4 separate regions of the Homo sapiens genome follow, and regions 1, 2 and 3 are each linked to region 4. Evidence: promoter capture Hi-C in human tissues and cell types (Jung and others, 2019). All regions are on one chromosome and are shown on one strand. Each heading gives the region's core, a stretch centred on a gene start or on the middle of the fragment in contact. The rest is flanking DNA. Distances are from core to core; before and after follow the strand shown. Region 1 holds the start of CARD10 (caspase recruitment domain family member 10). Region 2 has its middle 19 kb from the start of CARD10. Region 3 holds the start of GALR3 (galanin receptor 3). Region 4 holds the start of LGALS1 (galectin 1).

Region 1 (2,705 bases), core at 189-2,688, 160 kb after region 4:
CTCCTTTGTTAATTGAGGAATTTGCACTAGAATTCAGTTCTCCCAAAGCATTTCTTCTGCATGTAAACAGGTGACACCCAAAACAAAAACAAATGTACAACAAATGCAAACCAAAAAAAGGCTGTGGTTAATTAAGTTTGGAAAAGGACACCAGGATATATAAAGTTAAATCTGTTTCTTTACTGCTGGGGCTTTTTTTTTTTTTTTTTTTTTTTTTGAGGGGGAGTCTCATTCTGTTGCCCGGGCTGCTGGAGTGCAGTGGCACGATATCACTGCAACCTCCGCCTCCTGGGTTCAAGCGATTCTCGTGCCTCAGCCTCCCGAGTAGCTGGGATTACAGACGCGCACTACCACGTCTAGCTAATTTTTATATTTTTAGTAGAGATGGGGTTTCGCCATATTGGTCAGGCTGGTCTCGAACTCCTGACCTCAGGTGATCCACTCGCCTCGGTCTCCCAAAGTGTCGGGATTCCAGGCATGAGCCACCGCCCCCGGCCTTAATTTAAGCAGGGCTTTTCAGAGCCTTTATTGATTGAAACCTTAATTCTTTGGATAAGTAATACATATGTCCACGGCATCTAATTCAGAAGTTGTGGAAGGCGATTAGGGAGCTCACACCTCTTTCCTGTACCGGTTGTGCCTCCTCTGTTCCTCCCTGGCAGCAGGTACCTGGCAGCTTCTAATGCATAGCGAGACTGTATCGCATGCACCAGCAGATACCGTGTAGACTCGGCCAGTATCATGGTAAGACACCACCGGCCTCCCAGGCAGGAGCGGGAGTATGGATGGCTAGTCACAGCCCGCCCCCAGCATCTCTGGGACCAACACCTGGAGGAATACCCTTTGAGAATTGTGGGGTCCCTGGTCCTCAAGTGCCACGGGAGTTTGCGTAAGAGGGGAGTTGGCAGTGCTGCCCTGCAGGTTCAGACCCCCATCTTGCAGAAAGCCCCCATGACCTCTGCCCATTGCTGTCCCCCGCGGGGCTGTCCTGCGCTCCAGGGAAGCTCCCGCGCCCGCAGTGCATGTGGGGACCCGAGAAGGGCAAGCCCAGCTTGAGTGCCCGCGGGCTGCGCCGGGCGTGAGCGGCTAGCCCCGCACGGGCGGGCGCGCTGTGGGCGTGGGGAGGCGATGCGCGTGGCCCGGGGAAGGTGTGTCGCGGCGCGCGGGGGGTGTGAGCGCGCCTGCCCGCCCCCGCCCCGCCCAGAGGCCGGGCAGGTGTGGGCGGGCGGCCAGGACCCCGCCGAGCCGGGCTGGAGAGCCGGCGGGAAACAGGAAGCAGGGGGAGGCGCAGCCGGACGGCCGGGAGGGAGGGCGTGCAGACGGACGCGCGGGGTGGCCGGGGGCCGGACGCACGACCCGGGGCGGGCGGCAATGTGGGGAGGCCCGGGCAGCCCAGGAGGCTGCGGGGACGGGGGCGGAGCCGGGGGCGCCACGGGCACCGCCCCCCTGCGCCGGCGGAGCCGCCGCCCGAGTGCGGACCCGGGAGCCCGAGGCGACTGTAGCGTGCGGGGTGAGTCGCGGGGAGCTCGGGGCGCGCCCCCGACGGCGGGTCTGCGGACGACGCCCCGGGGGTGCTTGGCCGCACATCTAGCCCTAGGGAGCCCTGGTCGACCCCCGTGCGCCTCTTGCCCGCAGACCCTGAGGACACGGCCATGCCGGGCCGGGCGGAGGCGGGGGAGGCCGAGGAGGAGGCCGGGGCCGGCTCGGGGTCTGAGGCGGAGGAGGACGCGCTGTGGGAGCGAATCGAGGGCGTCCGGCATCGGCTGGCTCGCGCCCTGAACCCGGCCAAGCTCACGCCGTATCTGCGCCAGTGCCGGGTCATCGACGAGCAGGACGAGGAGGAGGTGCTGAGCACCTACCGCTTCCCGTGCCGCGTCAACCGCACCGGTGAGCCGCGGGTCCCGAGTGGGCCACGACCTGGGCCGGCCGTGCCCTGGGGCGCAGCGCCCACAGCCGTGTAGCGCGAAGCTAGGGCTCTGCTGCCCTGGGGCTCGGTCTCCGCATCAGTAGAGTGGGCCGGCTGGGTATGCCCACCAGCCTGCCTCCTCCCCACCCACCACTGCGCCTTGGCGGTCCGCGTTGCCCACACCGGGGTCAGAGTTTTGTCTCTTGGGGTTCTCTCCCACTTCCTGGGTCCACATTAGAGCAGAAGGTTGGATGTGGCTGCCAGGGCCGGCTGGGCCTGGGACCTCCCGGTCACAGCCGGTGGACTTGGCACCTTTCCTGCGCTCTTTGATCTCCGAGTTCTGTCTGTCCCCTCCTCTGTGCACCATACACTCCTGGGGGAGTCCTTTTTCAAGTGTCAAGATCCGTCTCAGCTTTACGTGGGTCCCCACTCCCACAGGGTGTGCCTTTGAACCAGAACTCAAAAAGGCATGATGGAATGGTCTTTAATGGTGGAATTTCAGGCATGGCCAATGGGAGAAGTATTTTCTTTGCTTCTGGGGATAGAGGGGGCTTCTCTGTGCCATTGAAAAGGCAGGCTGCATTTGCGGGCCGGCATCTGTGTCTGTGGGGGGTGTTGGGGAGCTCTGGGAGCCCAGGAGTCATGAGGGAATGTGCTCCCCTGGCTGTGGCAGAATGGCTCTCTTCTCTTCCCTGATGTGTTGGGACAGGCCCCTGTGTGTGTCACTGGCTCAAAAATCTGGGGAACGTGGGCCTGGAGCATGGTGGGGGCAGAAGCAACCAGGCACCTGGGGAGGCCT
Region 2 (2,746 bases), core at 173-2,672, 140 kb after region 4:
GTTCGAGACCAGCTTGGGCAACATAGTGAGACCCTCATCTCTACAAAAAACTTTAAAAAATTAGCTGGACATGGTGGTGTGAGCTGGGAGTCCCAGCCACTTGGGAGGCTGAGGTGGGAGAATCGCTTGAGCCCAGGAGGTCAAGGCTGCAGTGAGCTATGATCACACCACTGCACTCCAGCCTGGGCAATAGAGCAAGACCCTGTCACTGAAAAACAAACAAACAAAAATGATTAGTTCTGGAATCCAGAAGTCTGAAATCAAGGTGTTGGAGGGGCCCCGCTCCCTCTGAAGGTGCTAGGGGAGAATCCTTCCTTGCCTCTTCCCGCTTCTGGTGGCTCCAGGTGTCCTTGCCTTATGGCAGCCTCGCTCCTGCCTCTGCCGACATTTCCGTGTAGCTCCCTCTGTGTCAGCATCTTCTCTTCTTGTAAGGACACTTGTCAGTGGATTTGGCCCCCCACGGATAATCCAGGACGATCTCATCTTGAGATCCTTACTTTTTTTTTTTTTTAAGATGGAGTTTCGTTCTTGTCACCCAGGCTGGCGTGCAATGGTGCAATCTGGTCTCACTGCAACCCTCTCCTCCCGGGTTCAAGCGATTCTCCTGCCTCAGCCTCCCAAGTAGCTGGAATTACAGGCATCCGCCACTACGCCTGGCTAATTTTTTATTTATATTTTTAGTAGAGAGGGGGTTTCGCTGTGTTGGTCAAGCTTGTCTTGAGCTCCTGACCTCAGGTGATCCGCCAGCCTCAGCCTCCCAAAGTGCTGGGATTACAGGAGTGAGCCACCGCGCCCGGCCGAGATTCTTATCTTCATTACATTCGCAAAGACTCTTTTTTCAAATAAGACTGTATTCCCTGGTCCCAGGTGGACGTGTCTTTTGCAGGGGGGCCACCAGTCAACCCACTGCAAAATCCCCAGGCAGTGCCCTCTCCCACGTTCCTCTCCTCCTTGGGGCTCCCAGCCCCTCCAATCCAGCCTCCTTGAGTAGGAACTGTGTGGTCCTCATTCACTTTTCCACCCCTAGGGCCCAGAGTGGGCAGTGTGTTTGCAAATATAACTCCGTTCCTCTCTTCTTCCCTCCCTCCCTCCAGTAACCGATGCCACCAGAGGCTAGAACTGGTGCTGCACCTGTGGGACGAGGGCGCCACCGTGTGTCCAGCTTGGAGCAGTGTGGTCACAGGCTTGAGCCCAGCCCCTGCCCTGCTGACAGCCACTTACAGAGCGCCTGCCCCACCAGTCACTCCACCCACATCAGCCCTCTTCTTCATGGCCGCAGTATAAAGAGGGAATTACTATCCAGTTTTTCAGATAAGGAGACTGAGGCTGAGACCTTGCTAACGTCACCCAGCCTTCAGCTGCCGCCAACTCCAAAGCCACACCCACGCCATGCTGTGGACCAAAACTAGACCTGTGCGTGGGTCTGGGCGTGAGCCTTCAGACTTCTCAGGGTGTCCTGCTATTGGGAAGCTGACGCAGGAGGATTGCTTGAGCCCAGTAGTTCGAGACCAGCTTGGGCAACATAGTGAGACCCTCATCTCTACACCTCTTCTGTAAAGGGGGGAAGGTGCCAAGGACCGCCCTTGCCAGGTGGCCCCTTCCCCGTCTCTGGCCCTGAGAGAGACCTGCAGACCCCTGAGGCCTGTGGGTCTTGGGGGAATGAATTTTTGGGGAATACAATTCTGAGTACTTTCCAAACATTAGTCTTTTTGAATATTTTGGTGTTCATTGTTTTTCTCTAAACATTTGCATATGTGTGAACTATTTAGTGATTTAAAAAATATACTTAACTGGGTTAAAACTTTACGTAGGGCTGAGTGCAGTGGCTCACGCCTGTAATCCCAGCCCTTTGGGAAGCCACGGTGGGCGGATCACTTGAGGTCAGGAGTTTGAGACCAGCCTGGCCAATATGGTGAAACCCTGTCTCTACTAAAAATACAAAAATTAGCCGGCTGTGGTGGTGCATGCCTGTAATCCCAGCTACTCGGGAGGCTGAGGCAGGAGAATTGCTTGAACCGGGGAGGTGGAGGTTGCAGTGAGCCAAGATTGTGCCACTGCACTTCAGCCTGGGCGATGGAGTGAGACTCTGTCTCAAAAAACAAAAGAAAACGAAACCAACTTTATGTAGGCCTCCAGTTCCCCTCTAAAAGACAACAGCTGGCTGGGCGCAGTGGCTCACGCCTGTAATCCCAGTACTTTGGGGAAGCCAAGGCAGGAGGTTCACTTGAGGCCAGGGCTTCGAGACCAGCCTGGGCAACATAGTGAGACCCTGTCTCTATTTAAAACAAACAAACAAAAAAGGCCTGGCACCGTGGCTCATGCCTGTAATCCCAGCACTTTGGGAGGCTGAGGCAGGCGGATCACCTGAGGTCAGGAGTTTGAGACCAGCCTGGCCATGCGGCGAAACCCTTACTAAAAATACAAAAATTAGCCAGATGTGGTAGCGGTGGGGGGTGCCTGTAATCCCAGCTCCTCAGGAGGCTGCGGCAGGGAAAATTGCTTGAACCCGAGAGGTGGAGGTTACAGTGAGCCAAGATCGCACCATGGCCCTCCAGCCTAGGCAACAGAGCGAGACTCCATCTCAAAAAAAAAAAAAAAATAAAATAAATAAATAAAAAATAAATGAAAAACAATAACTGATGGCAGTTTCCTCCATATTCTCCCAGAGATGATCTGGGATGATTTATATATGTATATATGTATGTACATGTACACAGTATATGCAGACACACACACCACACACACA
Region 3 (2,700 bases), core at 150-2,649, 150 kb before region 4:
GGCGTTACGCGGCGTGCGCAGGGCGCGCGAGCGCAGCGGGTGCCGCACGGCCAGGTACCTGCGGAGGGCGCCTGGTCAGCGGGGCGGGCAGGTGCCCTCCCGCAGGGGCCCGCGCCACGTCCCGCGCCCGGGCCCTGCGGCCCAGTGCGCCTCCTGTGAACCGTGGGGGACGTGGCGGGGATTAAGGGTGTGAACGCGCAAGGTGCTTAGGCCCTTGCACCTAGCAAGGGCCCGATCCCGGTGACTTGTTATTTCTAGGATTATTTTATGGATGCGTCAGATGAGGTCCAGAGAGAAGTGACTTGCCCAGGGTCATCAGCTGGAGTGAGCCTGGATTTGACCCCAAGTTTCAAGCTGTGGAAGCAGATGTGTGCACAGCTTGGCCAGGTGTGGGCAGTTAGAAAATAGCTGGGCTGGGCGCGGTGGCTCACGCCTGTAATCCCAGCACTTGGGAGGCCGAGGCGGGCGGATCACTTGAGGTCAGGGGTTCGAGACCAGCCTGTCCAACATGGCAAAACCCCGTTTCTACTAAAAATACAAAAAATTAGCCAGGTGTGGTGGCCTGTAATCCCAGCTACTCAGGAGGCTGTGGCAGGAGAATCGCTGGAACCCAGGAGGCAGAGGTTGCAGTGAGCCAAGATCCAAAAAAAAAAAACAACAAAACAAAACAAAACAAAAAAACTGATGAACGCATTCGTGAGCTTCTTTTGCGATTCATTTCGCGCTTACAGAGCACTTACTATGTGCCAGACCCTGTGCTGCCACTTGAGACTCAGAGGCGTCCTCTGGAAGTTCACAGTGGAGGAGGGGAAGGGCAGGACAGTCCCCTCAAGCACGCCCTGCAGGTGCCCAGAGGCTGCTTGCGAGGGGTCAGGGAGCTTTTGTTTCCTCCCACCCACCTCCCTTTCTGGTCCCCCACTCTCTCCTTCCTAAGGCCAGTGAGGATCTGTTCAGGACTCCTCCCCCAACCCCCGCCCCCACAGCCCTGCCCAGCCAGGCCCCAGGCACAGCGCACCTGTCCACGGAGACAGCAGCCAGCGTAAAGCTGCTGGCGTACATGGTGAGGTAGATGAGCAGGTGCACGGCCTTGCAGACGAGGGCCCCAAAGAGCCAGGCATCCAGCGTGTAGATGGTGGCCTGGAAGGGCACGCAGCACAGGATGAAGCAGAGGTCAGCCACCGCCAGGTTGAGGATGAACAGGTCCGTGGTGCTGCCAGGCTCCTGCCAGGCACTCGGGCCAGGCTGCAGGAGCACTGCCAGCACCAGCCCATTGCCCACTGTGCCCAGCAGGAAGATTAGGGCAAAGACCACAGGCACTGCCACGGCCCCCACACTCCCTGGGCTGTCCAGTGAAATGTTCTGGGCATCAGCCATCTCCCCATCAGACGGGCACCTGGGAAGAGAAGCTGGAATCCTCAGGCAAGAGCCCCCAGTTCTGGTTGCTTGACCCCGGGATCTAACTCCCCCGACCTGGGTCTGGCCAGGTGTTCTGGGCTGGAAGCTCGTGGGAGATGGAGGAGGGGAGAGCAGAGCCAAAGTCATCGCTGAGTGTCACTGTGTGAGCAAGCTCGTGGTGTTCAAGGGGTGAGAGTTCCTCAGTTTCCTAAGGAACACCCCTGGAGTCCTGCCTGGAGGACTACCTAGGTATTTGAGGGACACTTTCAACCCACGAGGCTGGGGAAGGCACAAGCGAAGTAGGATGAAGATATGGCGATGGGGGGAGGGGCCAAACCCAGAAACTGGTATGTTTTCCTTCTCAATGGGGATCTGAAGCTCAGGGGAGACCCTGGGACATGGGTTTAGGGCTTTCTCTGGCTACAAGCTGTAGCCTTAGCAAAACACGGGTAACATCCCTGAGTCATTGGAGGGTCCAGTATAGTGAGATCATCACAATGGCAAAACTGGGAAGACCGTGTAGGTCACTGCTTCCTCTCTGCACATAGGGAAATTGAGGCCCAGAGAGGGGACATGGGAGGATAATATCACACTCGAAATGGCAGCTCTGGGGCTGTTGCCACCCTGGTATCCTGCCTCTTAAGCTAGAGTGCTCATCTGAGAGCTTGTAACAGGTGGTGCCTCTGACAACTTGTGTGTGTGCACACCGCACCCATGCTCACCCCCATCCCACTCTACAGCCCATGTCTCCTACTGCCTGTGGATCTCCTTGCAGGCTTGAGACCACTGGGGTGGTGGGACAAAGTAGGGGAAAGGGGGGTCAGGCAGGGAGTAGGGAAGAAAGGCAATGTCTGCCCCCATCCCAGCACCCAGCATGCAGTAGGTCCCCAAAGCCCAGGATGGGCAACACCCACCTCCGCCTTGGGCAGTGGGCTTGATCCTGGGTGGAATGGCCGGGCTGGGTGGGCCTCCTGATTCAGCGGCTGCCCCTTGGTGCCTCCCTGCAGGTACTGGTCTGCCTTCTACTTCTCCCCCTTTGCCTTTAAGGCCCCTCCTCTCCTCTGCCCCCTCTGCTGAGCCGGAGTTGGGCACTCCCTCTGGAGTAGCCACTGGCCACTTCCTCCTCAGTCCCTGATTTCCCCCAGGTGGCAGGCTCTTCTGCCTGGCTCTTCTCTGCCTCTCTGCGTTGCTGCTGCCTTTTCCTCTCTCTGCAGCCAGTAACCCATTGATCTCGCTCTCTGTGATTTGCTTTGTAGTTAACCCCTCTGTGCCCAGGGCCCAGCCAGTCTCTGGCACTCCCACCTC
Region 4 (2,700 bases), core at 136-2,635:
CCAGGTTTGAGATTCAGGTTGCTGGCGACCAGACCCTGCACAGACAAGCCCCGGCCCAGCCGGGTTAGAGGACAAGGCCTCCACTGCTCGAAGTGTCCGGGGGTGGCTGGGGGTGGGAGTGGGGTTGTTCCCGCCCGGCATCCTCTGACCAAGCCAAGGGGAAGCCTGGGGAAAGGATTGAGCTGTAATTTCCAGCCTCCGATTGTCTATGTGGTCCTGGGAAAGTCCCTATTCCCACCGGGGTTGGCTTCAGTCTGTAACGTGAAGGTTCTAGAAGACAGGCTCTAGAAGATTTTGCAGATTGGCTTGGGAATTTTGGACTCAAGAGTGACTTGGGAGATGGGGTGCTCTGTCCCATCGCAGATGGAGAGGATCAGGCTGGGGAGGGGCCGACACTTGGCCCACCGTCACACTGAATGGAGGGGCCGGCCCCTCTGCTGGAGAGGAAGTGGCTAGGGGCGGGCGACCCCACTATTCTCCTTCAAGCCCCTCTCTGCAAAGAGGCCCAGGGGCTAGAGAGGAGACCCTGAAAAACACGGCCTCTCTGCATTAGGGAGAATAGCCCTGCAGTCGGGCTGTGGCTGGGCTGGCTCAGGGTTAACAAGATTGAGCAAACTGCTGGGCACTGCTGTTCCCTGGCACCCCGAGTGGGTGGGCAAGAGTTAACTGGTTTGAGTGGTTTCTTCTGCCAGAAACTTGAACCCTTTCCCTGGGGCCCGAGGAAGATTCTCACCTCCCTGCCACCCCAACCTCCCAGCTTGGGGGTGGTGGAAGGGAATTTCCCCCGCCCCCCCCGCCACCAGCCTGGACACAACCACCCTCCACCCCCGACCTAGAAGGGCCCATCCTGGGCAGCTTGTCTCGGGTCCTGGCAACTTTTCAGCGTTCTCTGGAGCAGAGGGTAACTCTGCCCTGGCCTGGTGACCGGGACAGCTGCAGGGGGGAGGGGACAGGAGGCTCTTTGGGGTGGAGGAGGGGGAAAGGGATAGTGGCCTGGGTGTCCCCCAGTTGGCCACACCCTTCCCACGCTCACTTCTCAGAGAGCTGCAGAATGTCAACCCTGGGCAGAAATAACTGTGCTTTCAGACCCTGGAGGAATCCAGACAATTATCAATGCAGAGAAGGCCTTGAGGGACCATGGCGCCCACCCCCATTTTACAGATGTGGCCACTGAGGTCCAGAAAAGAGAAGGCACTGGTTCCAGGCCACACAGCTGGGGCTAGAATCTGCTCCCGATCTGCCCAGCTCTCCTCTGGCCATCAGTTCCTGCCCTATCCCCTGGACCTTGGGGGGGGGTCCCCACACTCACACAAGCCATGATTGAGTCCAGGAGGATGTTCCCGGGCAGGCGCACCAGCTGTCAGAAGACTCCACCCGAGAGAGATGGGCCCCCGGACGCTCCCACCCTTTTAACTGGACCGGACCGGGTGAGCCCCGCCCCCTGAAAGTTCAGCCAATTGCAAGTCAGGATAGGGCTGGGGGCCACTGGGGGCGGAGTCCGTGGAATTTTGAAGCCAGTTTTGGAGCAGAGGTGACCAATCAGAGTGGCGAGCTGCTGCCCCCCCTCACCCCGCCGCCCCCGGCCAGAGTCCAAGCTCCACCTCCTATTCTCCTTCATCCCTCTCCACCTCCCCACCAAAATTGTGCTGTGGCAGAGATTGGGGGAAGCCAGTGGAAAATAGTTTGATGATGAGCTAGGCCCACAAGTTGGCGGGAAGGGGCCTGTGGCCAGCAGGCTGGGCTCAGGGGGTGCCCAGAGAAGATGGCTGAGGAGGTGCAGGGTCCTTCAGGGAATCAGAGCTGGGGGAGACCAGGCCACTCCCGGGCAGGGACCAGGGCGTGGCTCCTGCTGCGTGCGCGTCTGCAGAGGGCCACTGACTTAACCACAGGCCCTGGCCCCACCCGGGCCTTCCCCGGAAGCAAGGACTGCGGCTGCTGCAGCGCTCTCTCGCTGGCTCCTCGGGAAGGCTAAAGAAAGGCTGGGCCGGGCGCCAAGCCTGAGGCTGCAGGGCTTGGCTAAGGCCTCGGGCTTGGCCGCGTTCAGGGGCAGGCAGGGGATAGTCAAAGCGCCCTGGCCTGACAGCCTCAGGCCTGAGAGTGTCAAGCTTAGGAGATGGCCCAGGGTGGTCCAGACCAGGAGGGGGTGGGGTCCTGGCTCTGTGCACCCTGTCCTTTCTCTTTTTTATTTTTATTTATTTATATATTTATTTTTGAGATGGAGTCTCGCTCTGTCGCCCAGGCTGGAGTGCAGTGGCGTGATCTCAGCTCACTGCAACCTCTGCCTCCCAGGTTCAACTGATTCTCCTGCCTCAGCCTCCCGAGTAGCTGGGACTACAGGCCCCCACCACCACACCCGGCTAATTTATGTACTTTTAGTAGAGACGGGGTTTCACCACGTTGGCCAGGCTGGTCTCAAACTCCTGACCTCAGTTGATCCACCCGCCTCAGCCTCCCAAAGTAATGGGATTACAGGTGTGAGCCACCATGCCTGGCCACCCTGTCTGCTCTCTTAACATCTCCTCTGAGGCCCGGCACAGCCCTCCCTTCCCTGAGTGTTCAGCAGGTATTTTACTGAGCACCTACTATGTACCTGGCCCTGGGCTCTGAGGATTCAAAGCTGAACCCCTCCCAGTCCCCACTCTCAAGGAGCGCATAGTTGGGGTGGAATCTGACCACAACCACGTTAAGAAGTAGATGATG

The links. Contacts are between HindIII fragments. The study calls those that stand out against the background at their distance.
Region 1: the fragment with the promoter of CARD10 here is called in contact with the fragment with the promoter of LGALS1 in region 4 in 1 of the 25 tissues and cell types used here (mesendoderm cells).
Region 2: a fragment that was not itself captured here is called in contact with the fragment with the promoter of LGALS1 in region 4 in 1 of the 25 tissues and cell types used here (mesenchymal stem cells).
Region 3: the fragment with the promoter of GALR3 here is called in contact with the fragment with the promoter of LGALS1 in region 4 in 2 of the 25 tissues and cell types used here (bladder and dorsolateral prefrontal cortex).

The regions. Positions count from the first base shown.
Region 1 is chr22:37,518,148-37,520,852 of GRCh38, reverse strand. It overlaps CARD10 (caspase recruitment domain family member 10), which reads left to right and starts at 1,438. Exons shown (of 20, transcript NM_014550.4): 1 at 1,438-1,887. The coding sequence starts at 1,653. The HindIII fragment of the contact is 30,090 bases long and covers 1-2,705 here.
Region 2 is chr22:37,537,401-37,540,146 of GRCh38, reverse strand. No RefSeq gene overlaps it. Among named protein-coding and RNA genes, the nearest start is that of CARD10, 19 kb to the right of the region's middle. RefSeq lists a silencer at 1,074-1,263 and enhancers at 882-1,381, 1,382-1,883, 1,990-2,199. The HindIII fragment of the contact is 4,240 bases long and covers 1-2,746 here.
Region 3 is chr22:37,822,081-37,824,780 of GRCh38, reverse strand. It overlaps GALR3 (galanin receptor 3), which reads right to left and starts at 1,399. Exons shown (of 2, transcript NM_003614.2): 1 at 1,016-1,399; 2 at 1-58. The coding sequence starts at 1,374. The HindIII fragment of the contact is 28,947 bases long and covers 1-2,700 here.
Region 4 is chr22:37,674,321-37,677,020 of GRCh38, reverse strand. LGALS1 (galectin 1) reads right to left here and starts at 1,385. Exons shown (of 4, transcript NM_002305.4): 1 at 1,310-1,385; 2 at 1-35. The coding sequence starts at 1,318. RefSeq lists a silencer at 1,443-1,582. The HindIII fragment of the contact is 16,498 bases long and covers 1-2,700 here.